4 separate regions of the Homo sapiens genome follow, and regions 2, 3 and 4 are each linked to region 1. Evidence: promoter capture Hi-C in 16 types of primary human blood cells and fetal thymus (Javierre and others, 2016). All regions are on one chromosome and are shown on one strand. Each heading gives the region's core, a stretch centred on a gene start or on the middle of the fragment in contact. The rest is flanking DNA. Distances are from core to core; before and after follow the strand shown. Region 1 holds the start of NR2F2 (nuclear receptor subfamily 2 group F member 2). Region 2 has its middle 300 kb from the start of LINC00924. Region 3 has its middle 8.7 kb from the start of LINC02253. Region 4 overlaps LINC02253 (long intergenic non-protein coding RNA 2253).

Evidence for each region. The method cuts DNA at HindIII sites, captures the fragments that hold promoters and counts their contacts. A CHiCAGO score of 5 or more calls a contact.
Region 2: a fragment that was not itself captured here is called in contact with the fragment with the promoter of NR2F2 in region 1 in 1 of 17 cell types (endothelial precursors); the score reaches 6.3 in endothelial precursors.
Region 3: a fragment that was not itself captured here is called in contact with the fragment with the promoter of NR2F2 in region 1 in 3 of 17 cell types (M1 macrophages, M0 macrophages and M2 macrophages); the score reaches 6.5 in M1 macrophages.
Region 4: a fragment that was not itself captured here is called in contact with the fragment with the promoter of NR2F2 in region 1 in 1 of 17 cell types (M2 macrophages); the score reaches 6.2 in M2 macrophages.

Annotation. Positions count from the first base shown.
Region 1 is chr15:96,329,079-96,332,286 of GRCh38, reverse strand. It overlaps NR2F2 (nuclear receptor subfamily 2 group F member 2), which reads right to left and starts at 1,587. Exons shown (of 3, transcript NM_021005.4): 1 at 1-1,587. The coding sequence starts at 181. RefSeq lists a silencer at 1,695-1,834. The HindIII fragment of the contact is 6,805 bases long and covers 1-3,208 here.
Region 2 is chr15:95,733,875-95,737,152 of GRCh38, reverse strand. No RefSeq gene overlaps it. Among named protein-coding and RNA genes, the nearest start is that of LINC00924, 300 kb to the right of the region's middle. The HindIII fragment of the contact is 580 bases long and covers 1,621-2,200 here.
Region 3 is chr15:97,223,852-97,227,308 of GRCh38, reverse strand. No RefSeq gene overlaps it. Among named protein-coding and RNA genes, the nearest start is that of LINC02253, 8.7 kb to the left of the region's middle. The HindIII fragment of the contact is 1,254 bases long and covers 768-2,021 here.
Region 4 is chr15:97,243,310-97,246,982 of GRCh38, reverse strand. The region is part of intron 2 of LINC02253 (long intergenic non-protein coding RNA 2253); the gene reads right to left. Among named protein-coding and RNA genes, the nearest start is that of LINC02253, 11 kb to the right of the region's middle. The HindIII fragment of the contact is 8,464 bases long and covers 1-3,673 here.

The sequences.
Region 1 (3,208 bases), core at 338-2,837:
CCTGGCCACCGGCCGCCGTCTGGGCTGGCGTGCTGGCTGGGCCCCCTTGGCCGGGCGTCTGTGGCGTGTGCGGGGCGCCGGGCGGCGGGCCGGGCACGGGCGGCGCCTGCGAGGCCTGGCTGCCCTGTGAGCCGGGCACCTCGTCCTGGGGGTCGCGCCACGTGCTGACTACCATTGCCATATCTATGGGGGCTGCGTCCGGACTTCCTGCTCCCCTGGCTGCGGGCGGCGGCGGGGCGGCGGCGGCTCCCCGGGTCTCGGGCTCCGGCGCGCCGCCTTTTGTGTGTGCGAGGGTGCAAGAGGGCGCGGGAGGGCGCCCCGGGTGGCTCGGGGGCTGGTTGGTTGAGGTTGGTTAGTTTTTCCTTTTTTGTTTTTGCTTTTGCAAAGTTTTGTCGATGGCTTGTCTGGCCCGGTGTGTTTGTTTTGTTTGTTTCTCTCGGCTCAGCTTTGTTGGTTTCGGGGGGCTTTCCGCCGGGAGGGGAGGGGAAGGGGACAGGAGAGCGAGTGGGAGCAGAACGTGGAGAAAGAGGGAGGGGAGGGAGAGCTGAAGTCGATTGTCTGGCTTCAAGACAGAAGTAGGAGGCAAAAAAAAAAATCTCTCCAAAGATCTCGCTCGCTCTCACTCTCTCCCTCCCTCTCTCGTTCACTCTCGCTCTTAGAGCTGGTGTGCAGCCGAGGAGTTGGCGGAGGAGGAGGAGGAGGAGGAGGAGGAAGAGGAGGTGGTGGTGAAGGAGGAGGTAGAGGAGGAGGAGAGGCGACTGTCCGGGGGCCAAGTCCAGGGCAGCCCACAGTCAGCCATTCAGGAAAGCCATCGAAATCAGGAGGACTAGGAGATCGGAGGCGCCGGGTGCGGGCGCGCCCAGGGAGCCAGGCAGGCCGGGGCGGAGGCCGGCGGCCCGCGGAGTGGCCGGAGCGCTGCCCGGGTCCGGGGGAATCAGCATGAAAGTGGTCCGCGTCGGGCGCTGCGCGGCGTCGTCCTGGCGCTGGGCCGCCGCCGCCGCCGCCTGCCCCGGGCGTCCGGCGCGCGCCTCGCTCTCTCCGGCCGCCGCCGCCCGCAGTCGCTGGGTGGAGGCCGCTCGCCGTTCCCTGCGGGCCGCCCGGGCCGCCGCTGCCGCCGGAGCCGCCGCCGAAGCCGCCGGGTCGGGCCCGGAGCCGCTGCGTCTAGCGCCGCCGCCGCCGCTGAAGTCGCTGCTGCCGCTGCTGCCGCCGCCGGAGCCGCTGCTGCTGCTGCTGCCGCCGCCGCCTCACACACATAGGGAAAGAGTCAACTCGCCGGCGGCGGGGGAGAAATGATAAAAGAGAGAGAGGAGGGCAGATCACCACCTAGAAGCACATCCTTCGTGCGCAGAGGGGGGAGAAAAAGACGGAGAGAAAGAATGAAAGAGGGGAAAAAAGGCAGTACGGCACCCGGAGAAAGGAGGCAACTCGGGGAGAGGAGGAGGAGAAGAAGAAAACACACACGCGCGCACGCACACACACACCGCGGAGAGAAAAGAACAGAGAATCAAAGTGATCAAATATGCTAAAAAGGGGGGCGCGGGAGGGAATGCGATTTATAGGCGCCGGGGCTGGCAGAAGTGGCTTCTCCGCGATCAGCTCACTGAGCTCTCTATATAGTGAACTTTGACACGACTGCTGCAACTTAGCGCACGTTGCCATGGCGACGGCGCGCCTTATAAGGCAGCAGCCGGGGTTGGCCTGGCCAGGCGCGCGCGCGCCGCCCCCTCGCCGTCATTGGCCGGACTGCGGCGGCCCCGCCATGGCGGCCGCGGGCGCAGCCCGGTCCTAGCGCGAGCGGCGTCGCCGGCGCGGCGCGGGGCACGCGGGGGACCGGGGGTTGGGGGGGCGGGGACGGGGTGGCCGCGCCGCCGCCGCCGCCGCCGCCGAGAGGGGGATGGGCCCGTGCTGGCCCTGCGAGCGCTGCCTCTGCTCTCCCCACATCCCGCACCCGAGGTTTCCGCCCCGGCGGGGAGACTAGCGCAGCGCGCACACACAACGTCTCTTAAAGGCTCCGCGAGAGGCTTTGGATGGAATCGGGGAGTTTGCCTCTCGCAACTTGGCGATGTCACGAATTCCGCCGCTCGCGCACCACCCGGGACTCCTGGCGCATCTTAGTACCCACAATGCCAAAGAAAAGTTCCCTGGTTTCTTTGCAGAGGGATAGGGAGTGAGGGTGGGAAGGTGCCACGAACTGAGCTTGTAGGCATTTTCCAAACGAAAGAGTTGGCCAGATCCGGGTGATGGCAAACCCTTCTCTTAATTAACTCTGATCACTTGTTCGGTTTGGTGACATATATATATGACATATATTCTTTTCAGAGGATAAAGGCCGTTCTGTTTCTGTTTATTCCTTGTAGGGTTAACATTTCACAGGTATGTGGCCTGACATTTTAATTGCCCAAATAAAGCATCTCGGATGCTGAGAAGCAGAAATAGACTTCATCTGATTGTCATGATGCAATTAGAATCAATTTTCCTCAACTTTACCCTCTCTCGCTGGTTTTAGCTAACTCTCCAGCCAACATCCTGCCACACACCCAGTCATGGTGAGAGGGGAAAGACCTCTGCCCACTGATGGACAGGAGGAGGCAGCCGCCCAGCCTCCCCTGTGCACACCCTCTGTACACACATGTAAGCGCACATGTATCAGATGCACATTTGTCAATGTACACAGACAAAGACTTCACCGACTATGCTTCTAGGTCATAGAACAGTTGAGTACGGACTTCATTGTTCCTCAAGTTCCTTTTAAGCATTCATATAGTCATTAAAACGCACCCAGAGATTCTGCCCCAAATGGGAAATAATACTAGTACAGGTCACAAGAACCAAACCCAAGCCATATTCTACCTCAAGAAGTCACTGCAAAAAGAACAACTTCATAGCCTATTGCCATTCTGCTCCATGTGCTAAAATAATTGAGACAGTTGTGTCTTTGAATTCCAGGGTGTCTGGTTTTAAACATCAAACATGTAGAATTGCTCTCAGAACACACTATATTCCAACGCAGTAAACTTGTTGTTTATGACCAGTTAGTGAATTATCATTATTCCACATTTATACAAGAAAATTGTGTCTCCTTTGTACACACTTTGCACCAAGAAAAAACCTCATGCCGGTAAACCAACCAGGTTTGTGAACAATTAAAATATTTTACACAAAAGACGCTGAGCTCCAGGAAAGAAATGAACACATATGAAGAGTAAAT
Region 2 (3,278 bases), core at 661-3,160, 600 kb after region 1:
CCTTTTGGGCTGAGAGTCCTCCAAGGGAAGACGTGAGATCCCATACCCTCTGTAATGACCAAAGCCCCTTGCTTATTGTAAAGGCTAACTATCCTTAAGTAGCTGAATAATTGAAGAGTCATTAGATGAGGAGCAAGGAGGAATTAACACTTTTGAGCACTTATTATTTTCCAGGCACACCGCCAAGCATTTCACATTTGCCCTTTATTACTTTCTCAGAATAGTCCTGGGGGTGGGTCATCTTCCTCACAATTTATGTATGTGAACACCAAGACTCTAAGTTCGGTGCCTTGCCTAGAGTCAGCCCACTGGTGAGGAGCAGGCTGCACAGTCCATGCTCACCATTGAGTCACACTGCATTGACTAAACAATGCTTACAGCAGAAATGTGTACACCGTTGTTCCCTAACAGCCAGTTCTACATGGAGTGGCCAGAGTAATTTTGGTAAAATATAAAGGAGATAACAGCAGTCTCAGGTTCTAAACCTGGCAATGGCTTTATGTTGCACTTGGGATAAAATCCACATTGTTAAGCCCAGTCTACATTGCCTGGCTCTCTCTGGTTCCTGATTATCTCTTGATATGGTTTGAATTTGTGTCCCCACCCAAATCTCATGTCAAATTTGAGGAGGGGTCTGGAGGGAGGTGATTGGATCATGGGGGTGGATTTCCCCTTGCCGTTCTTGTGGTAGTGAGTGAGTTCTCATGAGATCTGATGGTTTAAAAGTGTGTGGCACTTCCCCCTTCACTCTCTGTCTCCTGCTGCCATGTGAAGAAGGTGTTCGCTTCCCCTTTACCATCAGCCATGATTGTAAGTTTCCTGAGGCCTGCTTCCTGTTAGGTCTGTGAAACTGTGAGTCAATTAAGCCTCTTTTCTTCATAAATTACCCAGTCTCAGGTAGTTCTTTATAGCAGTGTGAGAATGGACTAATACATCTCTATCACCTATATCCTACCTGACAGATCTCTCTTCCTCATATGTTGGCTCTCTCAAGCCCCAACCACAGTATTCTTTGTATTAGTCTTCTCCTGTCTCAGGTTAGTTTGTCCTCTCTTTCTGAAATATTATTCCTCCAGTTCATTGCCTGGATTTCTCCTTTACCTCATTAAGATCTCAGATACATTACCTCTTCCAAGACGACTTCCTTGACCATTCCTATCTATAGTAGACCTTTCCCCTCTTTTACTGTCTATCCCTGTATCCTGCCTTGGTTTTCTTCTTAGAATTTAATCAGGACCAGACACCACTTCGTGCAGGTATTTGATAGTTTGTATGGTTCCATCACTGTCCTGCAAGTTCTGAAGTTCAGGGACTTCTCACATCTTATTTATTTCTGTATCCCCAGCACCTAGAACAGTGTCTGGCACTTTGTAGGTTCTCAATAACTCATTAAATAAATATCCAATAACCTACCATTCCATTAGGGCCATCTGAGCGATTGGGAGCTGGCTTCAGTCTTGATGATTAATTGGATTGTTCATTTTCATATACAATAAAGGGTGTCATGTAGGTTTCATAGAACCATATCATTTGAACATCTAATCAGGACATATGGTCCAAGGAAGTGTAGTTTTATTTAATGGGAGAGAAGTTTTGAGATAGATTGTCTATGAGAAAGCTTAAGGTCTAAAGTGGCTGTTTCATTGCTCAGCATTTTTGCAAGGGGAATAGATGTCACAGTGTCATTCTCCTTGATTCAATTACATCAGGATATAAGGTAAGAAGCCACATTTTAAAAAGGAAACTAACATGTAATGAGCGATGAACAGTCACTGCTCCATGTACCTTACATATATTTCCTCATTTAGTTTCCATAAGATAGATATTCTTCTCCCCAACCAACAGATAAGTCAAGTGCCTTGTGGTTGAAGCACTTGGCCACAGTAATACCTGCTCCGATTGGTAGAGCTAACATTGGTACATATGACTGTCTAGTCCTGAAGCCAGAGCACAAAAAATGGGAACTCATCCAAACCCACACATCTCTTTATCAGATATCCCCACTCCATTCACTTTCCCCAAAGTCACACCCCAATTCCAGCACCTCCCCTTCCCCTCCAATACACAAAAGTACACACACACAACAAAGCAACCTCAAATCTATGGAGGACAGCCAAGGATTTGAGGCTGAGGTTTCCTGTGCCAAGCACTCTCCCACTAAGCTGGGAATATAACACCTTCTTTTGACTTCAGTAAAGCTTCAACACAAATCTTAAACCTCATACACTCCTTTTAATCTGATTGTTACCATCCTGTGCAGTGGCAAAGTAAAGAAAGGACGTGCTTTTAAAATGGGGACACTAAGAAGATATAAGTAGGATACACAAAACACACACTTAGAGCAATTCTCAATGGGGTTAATGCATGATCTCTCCTGACCACACTTCCTCCTTCCTGTCTCCCTCTTCCTGTGCAGTAATAAGTAAATAAATGAACCAACAAGCCGCACTCTCCTATGTTTTCTTTTGAGAGAATAATATAACCTAAAAGTTTAATTGTTTCATTTTGCCCCCGCTGAGGAAAGCAAGTGCACCTACTTATGAGTCACACAGAGAGGCGATTCCTTTATATATATGATTTCATTTGTCTTTACCATGGGCCTTTAAATGCAGGCATTAATGATAAAGAGAATGCAGCTCAGAGGGAGTTCACTTAAGATGAAACAGCCAGTAAATAACTCAACTGGGATTCAAATTCAAATACGATGATTTCAACATCCACATTTTTCCACTTTCTTCTAATATGCAATAAATAAGTAAGCACATGTAGGTTGGGGCATAGAAAGTTGACTTTTTAAATTTGTTTAATTTTAATAAAACTCAGGCTACAGTTAAAAAAAAAAAAAGGAGGCAGAGAGTGGTAAAGATGGCTGCCTTGGGCACACATGGTGTCACCAGGACACGTGTTGAGATGACATCTCAACAGCTTGTTGGAAGGCAGATATTTCTGTATTTTACCTGCTGCCTGACCCACTCATGCAGGCCGGCAGTAGTTGACACAATCAAGCAATGAACTGCCTGACAGGAAGTAGCTTCTGTGCACTTCTATGCTCTCTGACTGGGAGAGGGGACTTCCTGGTGAGTAAAGCTAACAGCAGATGAATTAGTGCTTTTTACCAGCAGGAGTTGTGGACCCCTTCGTTTCTGAGGTGAAACCACCAAATACCAACTCAATCATGTCAGTGCTGTGACACCTCTTTGTCACAGGTTGACATGGGGTTTCTGAGGGGAAAGCTGGAAAAAAGCGGATATGAAATAAATGTTTATCAAAGCACATAG
Region 3 (3,457 bases), core at 145-2,644, 900 kb before region 1:
CATTACATTAATTTTTTTGGATGCTAAACTAAGCTTTGATTCCTAGAGTAAACCTCACTTGTCATGATATATGATGCTTTTTTAATATGTTGCTCGATTTCTCACTAATTTTTTTAAAAGATACCTGTGTTTCTGTTTATAAGGGTTCCTGGTCTGCAGTTTTATTTTATTGTGGTGTCTTCATCAGGCCTCAGTTTCAGAGTAATCGTGAGTCCTTAGAATGAGTTGGGACAGGTTTTCTCTACCTCTATCATCTGAAAGAGCTTGTAAAAGATTGGTTTGGTTTAAATATTTTATTGTATTCACCAAAGAAATCTTCTGAGCCTGAAATTTTTGGGAGAGAGGGATATTTGTTATTACATACTTTCTATGCTTGTTATCAGTATATTCAAATGTTCTATTTCTTCATAAGTCAATTTTGGTAATTTGCGTCTCTTAAGGCACGTGCCATTTTATCTCTCCTAATTTTCTGACATATCAAAATATAAAATATGAAGAAATGTTCATCATATTCCCTTATAATCATATTCATTTGTTAGAGTTAATGATGATATCCATTTTTTCATTCCTAGTTTTGATAAGTTATGTCTTCTTTCTTTTTTCTGTTAGTTTAGCTAAAGGATGATCAATTTTCTTGAAATTTTAAGAAACCAATTTCTGAGTTAATTGATTTTCTTCATTTTTTTCTTTTCTTTTATTATTCTTTTTACTCTACTTGTCTTAAGTTTAGTTTTCTACTTTTTTTCTAATTATTTAAGGTGGAAGCTTAGATGATTACTTTGAGACTTTTCTTGGCTAATATAAGCATTTGAAACAGAAAAGTCCCATCTAAGTTCTACTTAGCTGTGTCCCATAATTTTTCATACAATGTACTTTCATTTTTATTCAGTTCAAAATATTTTTTAATTTTCTATAGGCTTTCTTCTTTGACCCATAAGTTACTTAGAAGTAGATTATTTAAATGTGCAAGTATTTGGATACGTTCCAGACTTCCTTCTTTGCGGGGCGTCGGGGTGCGGGGGCAGAGACAGAGTCTCTGTCTCCCAGGCGGGAGTACACTGACACGATCTTGTCTCACTGCAGCTTCTGCCTTCCAGGTTCAAGCGATTTTCGTGCCTCAGCCTCGCCGAGTAGCTGGGACTACAGGTGCGCGTGCCACCACTGTGCCCAGCTAATTTTTGTATGTTTAGTAGAGACGGGGTTTTGCCATGTTGCCCAGGCTTGTCTCTAACTCCTGACCTCAAGCGATCTGCCCGCCTCAGCTTCCCAAAGTGCTGGGATTACAGGCATGAGCCACAGTGCCCAGCCCAGATTTCCTTCTGTTTTTGATTTTTAACTTAATTACATTATAATCAGATATTACATTTTGTGAAATTTTAATGTTTTGAAAATCATTGAGACTTATTCTGTGGCCTAGTGTATGATACATCCTGAATAATATATTCTGTGTGCATAAAATATTATAATCTATATGGTCTCTCTCTAGAGAGTTTTATATATGCCTGTTAGGTCAGATTTGTTGAAACTGTTGATAAGATGTTTTATATTTTTGCTCATTTTATCCATAGGTATGCTATCAATTATTTTCAATGGGATGCTGAAGTCTCCCAGCATTAAAATTGAAATGACTATTTTTAATTTGATTTTGTCATAATTTATTTCATATATTTTGAGGCTCTGTTATAATTGTTTTCCTCATACATTAAACTATTAGCAAAATATATTTTTTGACTCCAATATTTTGGTGTCTAGTATTTACTATCTCACTATAATTGATTCTGATATTACTATAATCACTCTCTCTTATGTGTACTGAAGTTTGTTACTGCTTTTGTTGATGTATTTGTTTCTTTAACTTTCCTAGGCTAAATCTGAAATTTCTCTCCCCTATATTATGTGGTTTCTGATACCTCTGCTCATTTTCATTCTTGTTCTACCCTGGAGCTTCCCCATGTTGATAGCGCTTAGTGATCAGCCACCGCAGGGGATCTACATGTGGCTAGGGGAACGTGTTCAAAGCTTCAGCCACGGTGATGTCTGTCTCACCTTATCTTCTCTGCTCAGCCCTTTCACTTCTTCTCTATGCATGTACACACTCCAAGGTTGGACAAGACTATGTGGATAGTTTGGGTACCCTCTCATCTCCATGGCATATGCATCAACCAGGGATGTGCTTACCACAACCACAACCCCAAACTGGTAGAGCCGCTGTCCCTCTGTGTCCGGAATTGGTGGGTTCTTGGTCTGGCTGACTTCAAGGATGAAACCGCAGACCCTCGCGGTGAGTGCTACAGTTCTTAAAGATGCTGTGTCCAGAGTTTGTGCCTTCAGATGTTCAGATACGTCTGGAGTTTCTTCCTTCGGGTGGGTTCGTGGTCCCGCTGATTGGTGCGTTTAAAATCCCTGAGCTAAACAGAGTGCTGATTGGTGCATTTACCTCCTTTAGCTAGACACAAAAGTTCTCCAAGTCCCCACTGGATTAGCTAGACACAGAGCACTGACTGGTGCCTATACAATCTTCCAGCTAGACATGAAAGTTCTCCAAGTCCTCAGTCTCAAAAAAAAAAAAAAAAAGTTTTCCAAGTCCTCACCTGACTCAGGAGCCCAGCTGGCTTCGCCTAGTGGATTCCGCGCCGGGGCCGCGGGTGGAGCTGCTTGCCACTCCAGCGCGGTGCACGCGCACTCCTCAGCCCTTGGGTGGTCGATGGGACCCGGGGCCGCAGAGCACGGGGTGGCGCCCGTTGGGGAGGCTGGGGCCACGCGGAAGCCCATGCGGGGTCTGGGGGCTTGGGCATGGCGGGCTGCAGGTCCCAAGCGCTGTCCCGTGGGTAGGCGGCTAAGGCCCGGCAAGAATTCAAGCGCGGCGCAGGAGAGCCGGTAGTGCTGGGGGTCCCGGGACACCCTCCGCAGCTGCTGGTCCGGGTGCTAAGCCCCTCACTGCCTGGGGCCAGTGTCACCGGCCAGCGGCTCCAAGTGCGGGGCCCGCCCAGCCCGTGCCCACCCGGAACTCGCGCTGGCCCGCCAGCGCCGGGCACAGCCCCCGTTCCCACCCGCGCCTCTTCCGCCACACCTCTCCGCAAGCAGAGGGAGCCGGCTCCGGCCTCGGCCAGCCCAGAGAGGGGCTCCCACAGTGCAGCTGGGGGCTGAAGGGCTCCTCAAGCGAGGCCAGAGTGGGCGCAGAGAGCGAGTGAGGGCTGCGAACACACTGTCACCTCTCACCGCCTGCTTACCTACCACTGAGATTGTTCCTGCCACTGTCAGTGATGCTGAATGAGTGCTTCAACAACTGTTGGGAAAGGAGAAAACCCATTTAGCTATGTCAGAAGATCTGCCAGTCCTCACTGTCTGTTTCACTGTGGTAGAACCTTCACACCGGAAGAACTAGGATGGGAACATCTCCAGGTAAGAAACTCACAGATTCACACTTTTACTTCTTTTACTTGCAATTCAGCAATTT
Region 4 (3,673 bases), core at 326-2,825, 910 kb before region 1:
CCTTAAAAACTCTGCTCCCCTAATGCTTGGGGAGATTGATTTGAGTATTTAAACAATTCTGGTCTCTCACACACACACAAAGAAAAAAAGAAAATCGAGGTTGCAAAGAATAAGTGACCTCTGGATATTTTTGTTCACTTCTAGTTCCTTATCATGTTTATTAAGATGTTATTTTAAATATAACTATAGCATTATTAAACTGGATATTTCCTCAGAAAAATATTTAATGTGAACTTAAGTGATACTTCTGAAGCAGTGGAATTCTGGTTTCTTTCACTATATTTGATACACTAAGATGAACATTTTCTCCATATTTACAGAAATAATCTGGTTTGTACTCAAACTACATTCTCAAAACAAAGCAGAATATAAAATGGATTTTTTAAATAAGTAAATGTGTAGTATTTTTTCAAGTTTCTATTTCAGGAATCTATTTCCAAATCCATTAATGAAGTGAATATATTTCTCTAAAAATATTTAAAATATTCCTATATAAATTGTAACCTGAAGCAACTAATCATCTTCTAATTTAGCTTAAAGAAAAAAATACAGGAATAGAAAACGTGTGTGTGTGTGTGTGTGTGTGTGTGTGTGTGTGTGTGTGTGATTTTTGGAAGGTTGTCCAAGAGACTGGTATTTTTTTCACCTGACTCAGAGTACTGATATAGAACCAAAATACTTTGGATAACTGGTAGCCACTTAGTACAAAAGAGAGTTCAGTGGCTTCTTGCAGTGCCAGAAGTGCCAGTACTTGTCACACTGTAGACAAAGGCCAAAACAGCTCACCACAATTGGGAAAAAGTATCCTGCTAATGACTTTTACAATGAGATGGAAAGAGAAGAATCGAATATATGTCCAATTTTTTAGCTTTTTAAGAGGCTACCTAAGGGACTGATTTTTGTCTCATGTGACTTAGGGCACTGATGAGGAGCTGTCATAGTTTGAATGCCTGGGGACTGCAAAGAACAAAAGAGAGCTTGGCATATAGTTCTGGAGAACCTGCAGTACCACAGACAGACACAAGAGAGAGCAAGAGCCCACAAACTCCTAAAAAAGAAACCAGCAAATCTCTCTAATCTGGAAATTACATGCACAAGCTCAGAGAAAATGCATTTCCATAACATGTTTGAGAGGCCCTCTGAATCTCTAGTCATGCTGACTGATGAAGGTATTCCCCTGTATGAAATCAGTCTGTAAAAACTCGAAGTGTTAGTTGTTTTTTCAAATAAAAAAATTACAACAAAAAATAAGAAGACACATGAAGAAACAGGAGAACATGACCCAATTAACGGAACAAACTAAATCTCTAGAAACTGACTCTAAAGAAATTGATATTTACAAACTATCTAAAAAAGAATTCAAAATCATTGCTTTACAGAAGCTCAGTGTGCTGCAAGAGAATGCCAGATAGACAACTAAATGAAATCAGAAAAACCACAAATGAGCAAAATGAGAATATGTACAGAGATAGAAACTACATGAGAAAAAGCGAAGTAATTTTAGAGCTGGAAAATAAAATAGGTGAATTGAAAAATTCACTACAGCAGATCAACAGCAGATCTCACAAAGCAAAAAAAAAAAAAAGTCAGTAAACTCTAACACAGGTCATTTGAAATTATCAAGTCATAATAATAAAAAGAAAAAAGAATGAAGAAAAGTAAAGAAAGTCTAATTGATGTACCAGCACCCACGAGCAGACCAATATACACATTATGTGAGAGTCTGAAAGAGAAGAGAGAAAGATTAGAGCAGAGAGTTTATTTGAAGAAATAATGGCCAAAATTATCTGAAATGTGAGGAAGAAAACAGACCACATTAAATTCAAGAAGCTCAAATAACTTTAACTAAGAAAAACCCAAATAGGTACAAATCAAGACACATTATATTCAGACTGACAAAAGTGAAAGGAGAGACTTGAAACTAGTAAGAGAAAAGCAACTCATCACATGAAAGGAGCTGCCATAAGATTATCAGTGGGTTTTTTAGCAGAGACTTTAGAGGCCGAAGTGAGTGGGACGATACATTCAAAAGGCAAAAATAAATAAAAATTGCAGCCAAACATAAAAACTGTATCTGTCAAAACTATCTTTCATAAACCAAAAAGAAATAACTTCCCAGATGAACAAAAGTGGAGGGAGTTCATCACTACCAGACCTACATAAAAACTACCAAAGACAGTCCTTGGCGTTGAACAAAAAGGACACTATGTAGCAACATAAAAGCACAGAAAAACATAAAGCTCTCTGGTAAAGCCAAATATAGAGATAAATACAGAATTCTATAATATTGTAATGGTGTTGCATACAGCACTTTTAATTCAAGTAAAAAATGTAAGCAATATAAGCATAACTACAACTGTAAAACAATGTTAATGAATACAAAATATTTTTTAAAATGTAATTTGTAACATCAGTAACAAGTATGTGGTAAGGAGATCTGAAAGAGTAGTTTTGTATATAATTGTAGCTAAGCGGTTCTCATTTTAAAATAGATTGCTACAATTCTCGATGTTGTATGGGATCCCCATGATAACTACAAAGAAGATACTTATAGAAGATGAACAAAATCAATTAAGAAAGAAATAAAAGCATGACACTACAAAGGATCAATGAACCCAAGGGAAGACAGCAAGAGAGAACAAGAGGGACCAAACTAATACCATACATACAGAAGACAATTAACAAAATGGAAATAATAATTCAGTAATTAAGTATAAATGGGTTAAACTCATCAATCAAAAGACACAGTGTAGCTAAATAAATTTTTAAAAAATCAAGATCCAACTATATGTTGTTTATAAAAGACTGACTTTAAATAAAAAAGACATGCATAGGTTGAAAACAAGAAGATGGAAGATTTTTCCATGCAAATTTTAATCAAAAGAGAGGAGGGTTGGCAATACTTATATCAGACAGAATAGGCCTTAAGTCAAAAACTATCACAAGAGACAAAGAAGTACAATATATTGTTATAAAGGTTTAATTCACCAGGAAGATATAACAATTGTAACTATATATGCACCTAATAGCAGAGCACTTATATATATGAAGCAAACATTGACAGAAATAGAGAGATATATAGACAGCAACATAATAATTGTAGGAAATTTTAATACCCTGTTTTCAATAAGAGATAGGCCAACCAGAGAGATCAACAAGAAAATAGACGACTTGAACAACACTATGAACAAATTAGACCAACAGACATATATAGAACACTAAACCCGAAGTTTGCAGAGGAAGGAAATAATGAAGAATAGAGCAGAAATAAACTCAACAAAGAATAGAAAAACAATTTAAAAATCCATAAAATGAAGTGTGTTCTTTGAAAAGTTTAACAAAACTGGCAGATTTTTAGCTGGACTACAAGTAGAGACCCAGTTAGCAAAAGTTAGAAATAAAAGAGGAAACATTACAACCAATGCAAAAGAAAGAAAAGGGATCATAAGAGACAACTATATGAACAATAGTAGGCCAACAAATTAAATAACATAGAATAAATGGATACATTTATAGAAACATACAACCAACCAAGACTGAATCATGAAGAGATAAAAATAAAAAATCTATAACTAATGAGATCGAACGAGTAATTTATCAGTAATAATAATAAAAATTCCCCCGCAAAGAAAAGCACAGGACCAAATGGCATCACTGTATTAAGCAAAGTTGA